Regions from separate parts of the Homo sapiens genome. Here region 1 is linked to region 2. Evidence: promoter capture Hi-C in 16 types of primary human blood cells and fetal thymus (Javierre and others, 2016). All regions are on one chromosome and are shown on one strand. The core of a region is centred on a gene start or on the middle of the fragment in contact, and the rest is flanking DNA. Distances in the headings are between cores, read along the strand shown. Region 1 has its middle 18 kb from the start of NTSR1. Region 2 holds the start of MRGBP (MRG domain binding protein).

Evidence for each region. Contacts are between HindIII fragments. The CHiCAGO score rates a contact against its expected background, and 5 or more counts as called.
Region 1: a contact is called between a fragment that was not itself captured here and the fragment with the promoter of MRGBP in region 2, in 1 of 17 cell types (monocytes). The highest score is 8.1, in monocytes.

What each region holds. Positions count from the first base shown.
Region 1 is chr20:62,689,318-62,693,110 of GRCh38, forward strand. It overlaps a transcript of SLCO4A1 not described here. Among named protein-coding and RNA genes, the nearest start is that of NTSR1, 18 kb to the right of the region's middle. The HindIII fragment of the contact is 8,947 bases long and covers 1-3,793 here.
Region 2 is chr20:62,794,600-62,798,283 of GRCh38, forward strand. MRGBP (MRG domain binding protein) reads left to right here and starts at 1,874. Exons shown (of 5, transcript NM_018270.6): 1 at 1,874-2,072; 2 at 2,511-2,632. The coding sequence starts at 1,925. RefSeq lists silencers at 1-179, 1,641-2,180 and an enhancer at 471-1,017. The HindIII fragment of the contact is 13,279 bases long and covers 1-3,684 here.

The DNA of each region.
Region 1 (3,793 bases), core at 317-2,816, 110 kb before region 2:
TGCCCCGTGCCTCGCAGGCCTGTCTCTTGGGCAGAGTGGCTCCCTCTCTCCATCAGTCCTTCCTCCATCACACCGGTGCTCGTGCAGAAGCCAGGGCTCGCAGACATCACCCTAGGCACTGAGGATACCAGCTGCCCGAACGGACAGACGGACAGATGCTCAGCCTCCTCAGGTGCTGGCCCATGGCCTCCCAGGCTGGATGAGCAGCAGGTCCCTACGGGGGACGTGGCAGAGGGGACCCCAGCCCCAGCAGGGCCCAGCGAGCCGGGTGCCCAGCACAGCACTCACCTGAGCAGCTGTCTCCACCCCGCATTGAGCCCCTCCTGGGGACCGCCCCTTTCCAAAGACGCCCTGGTCATCTTAGACCCCCAGACCCTCCGGAAGGCGACCGCCATGCCTTAATAACTTGCGGGGGCTCAGGCAGAGCTGTAGGGATCCTGCCAAGCTGCCCGATTCCTTGTGTTCCTGGCAGGGGGATCCACATCATCCTCACCCCACTCCATGTGTGGGACGGGGCACCCAGGAATGTCTGGGGCCGAGGAAGGGGGTGGACCTGAGGGAACCCCTACCTGCAGAAATAATCATGAAAGGGGTGGAGCAGATGCGGGGGACCCGCGTCCCCACCCTCACCCCCAGGGGCTGAGTCGACGCCTGCAGCCAGCGCCTGCACTCCTGTTCACATGGGCTTCCCTGGCCTCTGTGCCTGCTTTGCGCCTGCGCGGCAGGTGAACGACCCCAGCCCCCTTGCCTGGTGAGTGGGCCTGTCTGCCGTGGATTCCCCAGCTGCATGGTGCCTCGGGTGCCCGCGATGGTCCTGGCCCCCTCCCTCGCATCGGCCACCTCTCTGCTCCAGCGGTGCTTCCTGTGTGTCCTCCCAGTAAACCTCCTGCCCCTGACCCCAGTCTCCCCTCTGTCTCAGGGGCCCACAGGGAGACAGACAACCTCTGGGTGTCCGACGTCTCATCAAGTCCTTTGATACTCCAGGGGAGTGGGGTTGACAGTTTTCCATGGGAGGACGGAGCTCAACAGAGGGTGTCACCTGCACAAGGTCACCATAGGCTCTGACCCTGCAGCCAAGGAAGGCTCTGCAGGAGCCCCGGGAATCCCAGCCACAGAACAGGAGGGAGCTGCATGCTCTCACTCCACGCCCGCCCTCCACCGAGCCGCAGGCCAGAGCCCTGGCTGTGCTATTACTCACTATTATCTCAGATTTACCATTCATTTTACCAGGAGAGAAACTGCAAAAGGAAATTAACATTTCCATACTCTGCAGCGAGATACTTTCATGGACGCATTCTGAGATTTATTCTTTAATAATGGAAAGGAAACACCCTACTGGCTTCCAATTCGGGGCCTGACAGTTCATCCTATTCCAGGCAGAGAACCGCAATTCAATAAACGCGCTTTCATTTGTTTTGTTTTATTGACTTTGTTGTGTTAACTTGGTTGTGGGAAATGTCGAACATGGTAAACGGAATGAGGTTGGATCATGAACCCGCCCTCCCGGGCCTGCCGTCACAGCTTCCACTGTCAGCCCCCACATCTCACCCACCTGCCCGCGCACAGTCTTCCCCAAATTATAGTTCTAATATTATGTGGCAAAGTCAAGAATTCCCCAGTGATCCGTTGGCCGATTGACAGTGGAGAGGAGTGGTCTCAGGGGGCTGCCCTCGGCGCTTCTGTTAAAGGAGAAGCTCCCCAGCTCTGGGATGGCCCCTGGGGGTCTCCAGTACACCCCGCCGGGAATGACAGAGTCCCCAGGACTTCAGCGCAGCCTCTGCAGACCCCAGGCCGGGGAAGGAACCGAATACAGGGCTGTTCAGGAGCATTCAGAGTAGAAACCAGCTGGACCACAGCCCCGGAATGTTTTAAAAGAAGTAATACTAAGGTCCTAGGATTACATTTCCTCAAACATGTTTTCTTTTTTTTTTTTTTTTTTTTTTTTGAGACAGAGTCTCACTCTGTTGCCCAGGCTGGAGTGCAGTGGCATAATCTGGGCTCACTGCAATCGCTGCCTCCCAGGTTCACGCCATTCTCCTACCTCAACCTCCCAAGCAGCTGGGACTACAGGCGCCCGCCACCACGCCCGGCTAATTTTTCGTATTTTTAGTAGAGACAGGGTTTCACCGTGTTAGTCAGGATGGTCTCGATCTCCTGACCTCATGATCCCACCAGCTCGGCCTCCTAAAGTGCTGGATTACAGGCGTGAGCCACCCGCCTCGGCCCAAACATGTTTTCTGAAGTGACTGGGCTGTGTAGACAAATCCGTCTGTGGCAGCGACATGCTGCTGTGATGAAGCTCATCATTAGCTGTCACAGGAAGCAGCAAATTATCTCCAGTCGGCTCTTCTCAGACTGAAGCATCTCAGGAACTAATGTCGTTATTATCAAGCCTTGCAATTTCCAGAGAAGACAAGAACCTATTCATGCACGACGCTGTTAGAATTTTCCAACTGGTTACAGAAAATGAAACCGTGGGCTGGACCCACCATTTCCTGCCTTCACTTGCGGAGTAAGAGGCTCAGGAGCCACTGGCGAGAGACCCCCGGGGGGCATCTGGAGGGCCCCGCTGGCCACCTGGGTTCCAGTGCCCACGCTCACGATGTCTAGCTGCAGGTGACAAAATCCAAGTCAAACCAGCTTGAGGAAAGGCAGGGCCCAGGGCAGGACTCAGGGGCTAGAGCAACACCCCCAGACCTCTGTGCCTCTTCCATCCCCAGCTCTGCCCACGGCCACCAGGAACCCACTTGGCAACCGGTGAGTGGGGCCGCCCTTCCCAGCAAGCCCAGCGAAAGGGCTCTGGGTTCCACACTGGCTGATGCCCCCATCCCAAGACCCACCCCTGGGGCCTCGGGAATGGGGCCTCTGGTTGCTGGGGGGGGGGCAGCCCATCCCCCAGACCATGAGGGATGGGCTCTCTGTGACCCCGCAGAAGGTGCGGGGCTGGGGCGGGGCCCCCGTGAGTCTGGGAAGCTAAACCACCACAAGGCCCCTCCTATGCCTGGGTGCCAGCTGCCCACTGCAGAGCAGGGCTGCCTGACCGGCTGTGACGGCCAACAAAGAGGCACCAGATTCCCCTCCAGAGGACATGCTTGTGAAACAGAAGTGGCATTTGGAAAGGATTACAGAGCCAGACTCTGGGATGTGAGGGCTGCTCAGGATGTGGACAGCAAGATTCTTCATTTGGCGATATCCGGCAGCCTCAGCCCTTTTCAAAAGAAAAATAAAATAACAGGCCAACAGGTCTTCTCTCTTAGCCATCAAACCCATTACATATGGGCATATATTTAATATATCATGTATGACTCGTGTGTGTGTGTGTGTGTGTGTGTGTGTGTGTGTGTGTGTGTGTAGAGGAAGAGGGAGGGAGGGAGGCCGGGCAGGCAGGAACAGGGTGGGTATCAACAGGGGCAATGCGTGTAACAGGATTCAGAGCAATGCAGGCATGTGGCATGCACCAGACTCCAGCCCCATGCCCATGTGTGCGTGCACAGGCCGAGCATGTGTCATTTATGAACATGAGAGAGAAGGTGTGATTTCGGCAGGTCCTGTGGGTTTGCAGGGCGGGTCTGTATTCTAACTGCTCATTTCTACCAGAACACGTTTTCCTTAATTTAATGCTCCTTTTTTCCCTCCAATGATATTTTTAAAAACCAGATTGCAGAGCCTTGCTGGTTGCTAAAAGAGATTCCAACCAGCCGGTGCCCTCCTGTGCCAACGTTTTTGGGTCCCTGCAGAAGCGCATGGCCGGAGGCACAGGAATCCCGCAGGCCCCGCCCCAGGCTTCCCAGGA
Region 2 (3,684 bases), core at 624-3,123:
GGCAGGCGGTCAAGGCCGGCAGGGCCGGACCCCCTACTTGCCCTTTCTCCCAGCAGGCGCTGGACTCTGGGGGCGGGCGTGAGCCCCTCCGTCCCGCACCCAGACCCGGGCAGCGAGCCCTATGCCTGCAGTAATTGTGGGGTTTCTGGTTTTGTTTTTTCCTTAACATCTTTATTGAGACCGTTAAGTTCACCCGCTTAAAGCGCACGATTCGGTGGGGTTTTGTTGCGAGCAACCGTGGCCACTATCTAATTCCAGAGCATTTCACCTCCTTAAAATGAAGCTGGGCCCGGCCGGGCGCGGTGGCTCAAGCCTGTAATCCCAGCACTTTGAGAGGCCGAGGAGGAAGGATCACCTGAGGTCAAGAGTTCGAGACCAGCCTGGCCAACATAGTGAAACCGCGTCTCTACTAAAAATACAAAAATTAGCCGGCCGTGGTGAGCGCCTGTAGTCCCAGCTACCCGGGAGTCTGAGGCAGTAGAATCGCTTGAACCCAAGAGGCAGAGGTTGCAGTGAGGCGAGATCGTGCCATTGCACCCCAGCCCGGGCAACAGAGCGAGACTCTGCCTCAAAAACAAACAAAAAAGAAGCCGGTCCCCATCCGCAGTGACTCGCGTTTCCCTCCCCCTCCCCCGTCCCCGGCAACCGTGCATCTACTTTCTATTCCTATGGAGTTGCCAGTTCTGGCTCTTCCTGTGAATGGATTCCCATGCTGTGTATTTTCGTGTCTGAATTCTCTGACTTTCGTCTCAGCCCGCACCCACGCTGCCGCAGTCCGCGCTCGCTGCTTTTAGGCTGAACGCGGCTGCGCCGTGCGGGTGCCCGCGCTCCGGGCGCCCCTCGCAGGTTCAGCCCCGGGTTGGGGGCGGCGCTTGCCTCGCGGCTGCGGGTCCCAGCCTGAACCTGTGTCTTGTTCCACTGCCGCGGGCGCCCGCCACGGAGCTGCTGCTTCCTAGGGAGACGGTTCCATCGTTGAAGGAACGGCCAGACTGTCTTTCGCAGCAGCGGCCCATCTGACCGCACAGCACGACCGCACGAGGGTCCCGAGCCCTGACCCTCGCAGCACTCGTCACCCCGGCCGCGTGGTTGTGGCGGTCTCGGCGGGGCAGGGGGTCCCCACGCGGGCTGATTCTAGTTTCGCGTGACCGATGGTGCTCATTAGCCATATCTGTACATCTTTTTTTTTTTTTCGAGTCGGAGTTTCGCTCTTGTTGCCCAGGCTGGATTGCAATGGCGCGATCTCGGCTCACTGCCTCCCGGGTTCAAGCGATTCTCCTGCCTCAGCCTCCCGAGTAACTGGGATTACAGGCGCCCGCCACTACGCCCGGCTACTTTTTTTGTATTTTTAGTAGAGACGGGGTTATACGATGTTGGCCAGGCTTGTCTCGAACTCCTGACCTCAGGTGATCCGCCCGCCTCGGCCCCCCAAAGTGCTGGGATTACAGGCGTGAGCCACCGCGCCCGGCCCATCTGTACATCTTCTTTGGAAAAATGTGTATCCAAATCCTTAGCCGTTTTATAGTTAGATTGTCTTTTTATTATCGAGTTATAAGAATTATTTATACCTTCTACAAGGAAGTTCATTATCAGATATAGGATTTGCAAATATTTTCTCTCATCTGTGGGTCGTCTTTTCACTTTTCTGATGGTTTCCTTTGAAGCACAGACTTTTTTGTTTGGGTGCAGTGTATTTCTTACTGTGCTTTAAAGAGGAACACGTTTTAAGAACCCCCGCGCGGGGCGGAGCAGGGCGGAGTCCCCGGCGGGAAGGGACCCGAGACCTCGGCTGCGCCTGCGCCGACGCCGGCGCGTGAGCCCGAGCGCGTACCCGGCGGAGCGCGCGCCCGCCCCCGAGTGCGCCTGCGCGGAGCTCGTGGCCGCGCCTGCTCCCGCCGGGGGCTCCTTGCTCGGCCGGGCCGCGGCCATGGGAGAGGCCGAGGTGGGCGGCGGGGGCGCCGCAGGCGACAAGGGCCCGGGGGAGGCGGCCACCAGCCCGGCGGAGGAGACAGTGGTGTGGAGCCCCGAGGTGGAGGTGTGCCTCTTCCACGCCATGCTGGGCCACAAGCCCGTCGGTGAGCGCCCAGGCTGCGGACGCGCGTGGGGGCGGGGCGGGCAACCGGCGGGGCGGGGCGGGGCCTGCGCTCGCGACACCCTCGCCCCCACGCTCCCCGCCGAGCCCGGGCCGTGACACCGCCGCCACACCCGTCCCGGGACCCCCGCCCCCTCCCACGCGCCCTTCGGACCCCGCCCCGGACCCCGCCCACGACCCCTACCCCCGTGAGACCGCGAGGTCCCAGCCCGCAGTGCCCCACCCCCACCCCCGCCCCGGGACAGCCCACCCCCTCCCACACACACCACCCAGCCCTGCCCCCCCACAGCCCCTCCACACCCTGGCCCTCCCCATCTCTCCGCAGCCACCCTTGCCCCTCCAGTCCCCAGGGCAGCCCGTCCCCTCCATCCCCTTTCTCCTCACCGCTCACCGGTTATCCCGCCGCCCCTCCTCCCCTCAGGTGTGAACCGACACTTCCACATGATTTGTATTCGGGACAAGTTCAGCCAGAACATCGGGCGGCAGGTCCCATCCAAGGTCATCTGGGACCATCTGAGCACCATGTACGACATGCAGGCGCTGGTGAGCCCAACCGCCCTCCCTGTGCCGCCCGATGGGGGCACGAACCCGCACACCGCTCTCTGAGAGTCAGCCTGAGCTGGGCAGAGGCCCCTCCATGTCTGCTGGGGTCTGCTGGGCAGAGTAGAGGCCCCTCCATGCCTGCTGGGGTCTGCAGTGAGCTCTCAGGGTCAGCCTGAGCTGGGCAGAGGCCCCTCCGTGCCTGCTGGGGTCCCCTGGGCAGAGACCCCTGCAGTGAGGCTCGTCCTTAAGGAGGACATCCCGGGGCTCCAGAGCCTGTCATGGAAAGCACAAACACAGTGCTAGCAGCTGGCTAGCTTTTCAGGGGCTCTGCTTTAGACTGGGTGCTGGGCCAGAGTCTCCAGCTGAGACCCTGGGGAGGGAGGGAAGGATGCAGAGTCCCGGGCCCTTAGGCCATTGTCAGCCTCCTGGGAGGCCCCCGAAGTGCTTTAGGCAGAGGGTGACCCTATCTGAGTCACACCAAGGTGAATTTGGTGACTTCTGTGGGAGTCAGACAAGTAGAGTTCCAGTCCTCGCAGAGCTTGGAGCTGGCACTGTGTGACGGGCGAGCGGGTTAACTAGGTAAGCAGGGTGGCCAGAAGAGACAGGTGGGTGTTCCAGGCCCTGTGGCAGCAGGAGGTGGTGGGTCCAGGAGCTCAAAGAAGGTGGTGTACTTGGAGAGTGGGGTGGGGGTCAGGGGTCAGGTGACCAGGAGGAGTGGGGACCTGTGCTGGTGGAGAGTCTGTGCCAGCCACGTTGGACTCAGGGCCACACCGGCCATCAGTATGACATAGGTCTCTCCCTCTGGTCTGTGCGACCTCAGGAGGGCAGTGCCTGGCAAGCACTCTCTTCTTCTTTGCCTGGTTCTGTGCCTGTGGCGCTCCCAACCGACACCCTCGGTGTCCATGGGCTCCTGCCACGTGGATGAGAACTCGAGGTGCCTGCGGCCTTTCCCCAGGGCTGTCACTGTGCCCTCTGCATGCCGCCTTGGGGAACGCAGTCTCATGGTGAGACTGCAGGCCGTGCTGGGCAGGCGGAGCCCACAGGTGTGTGTC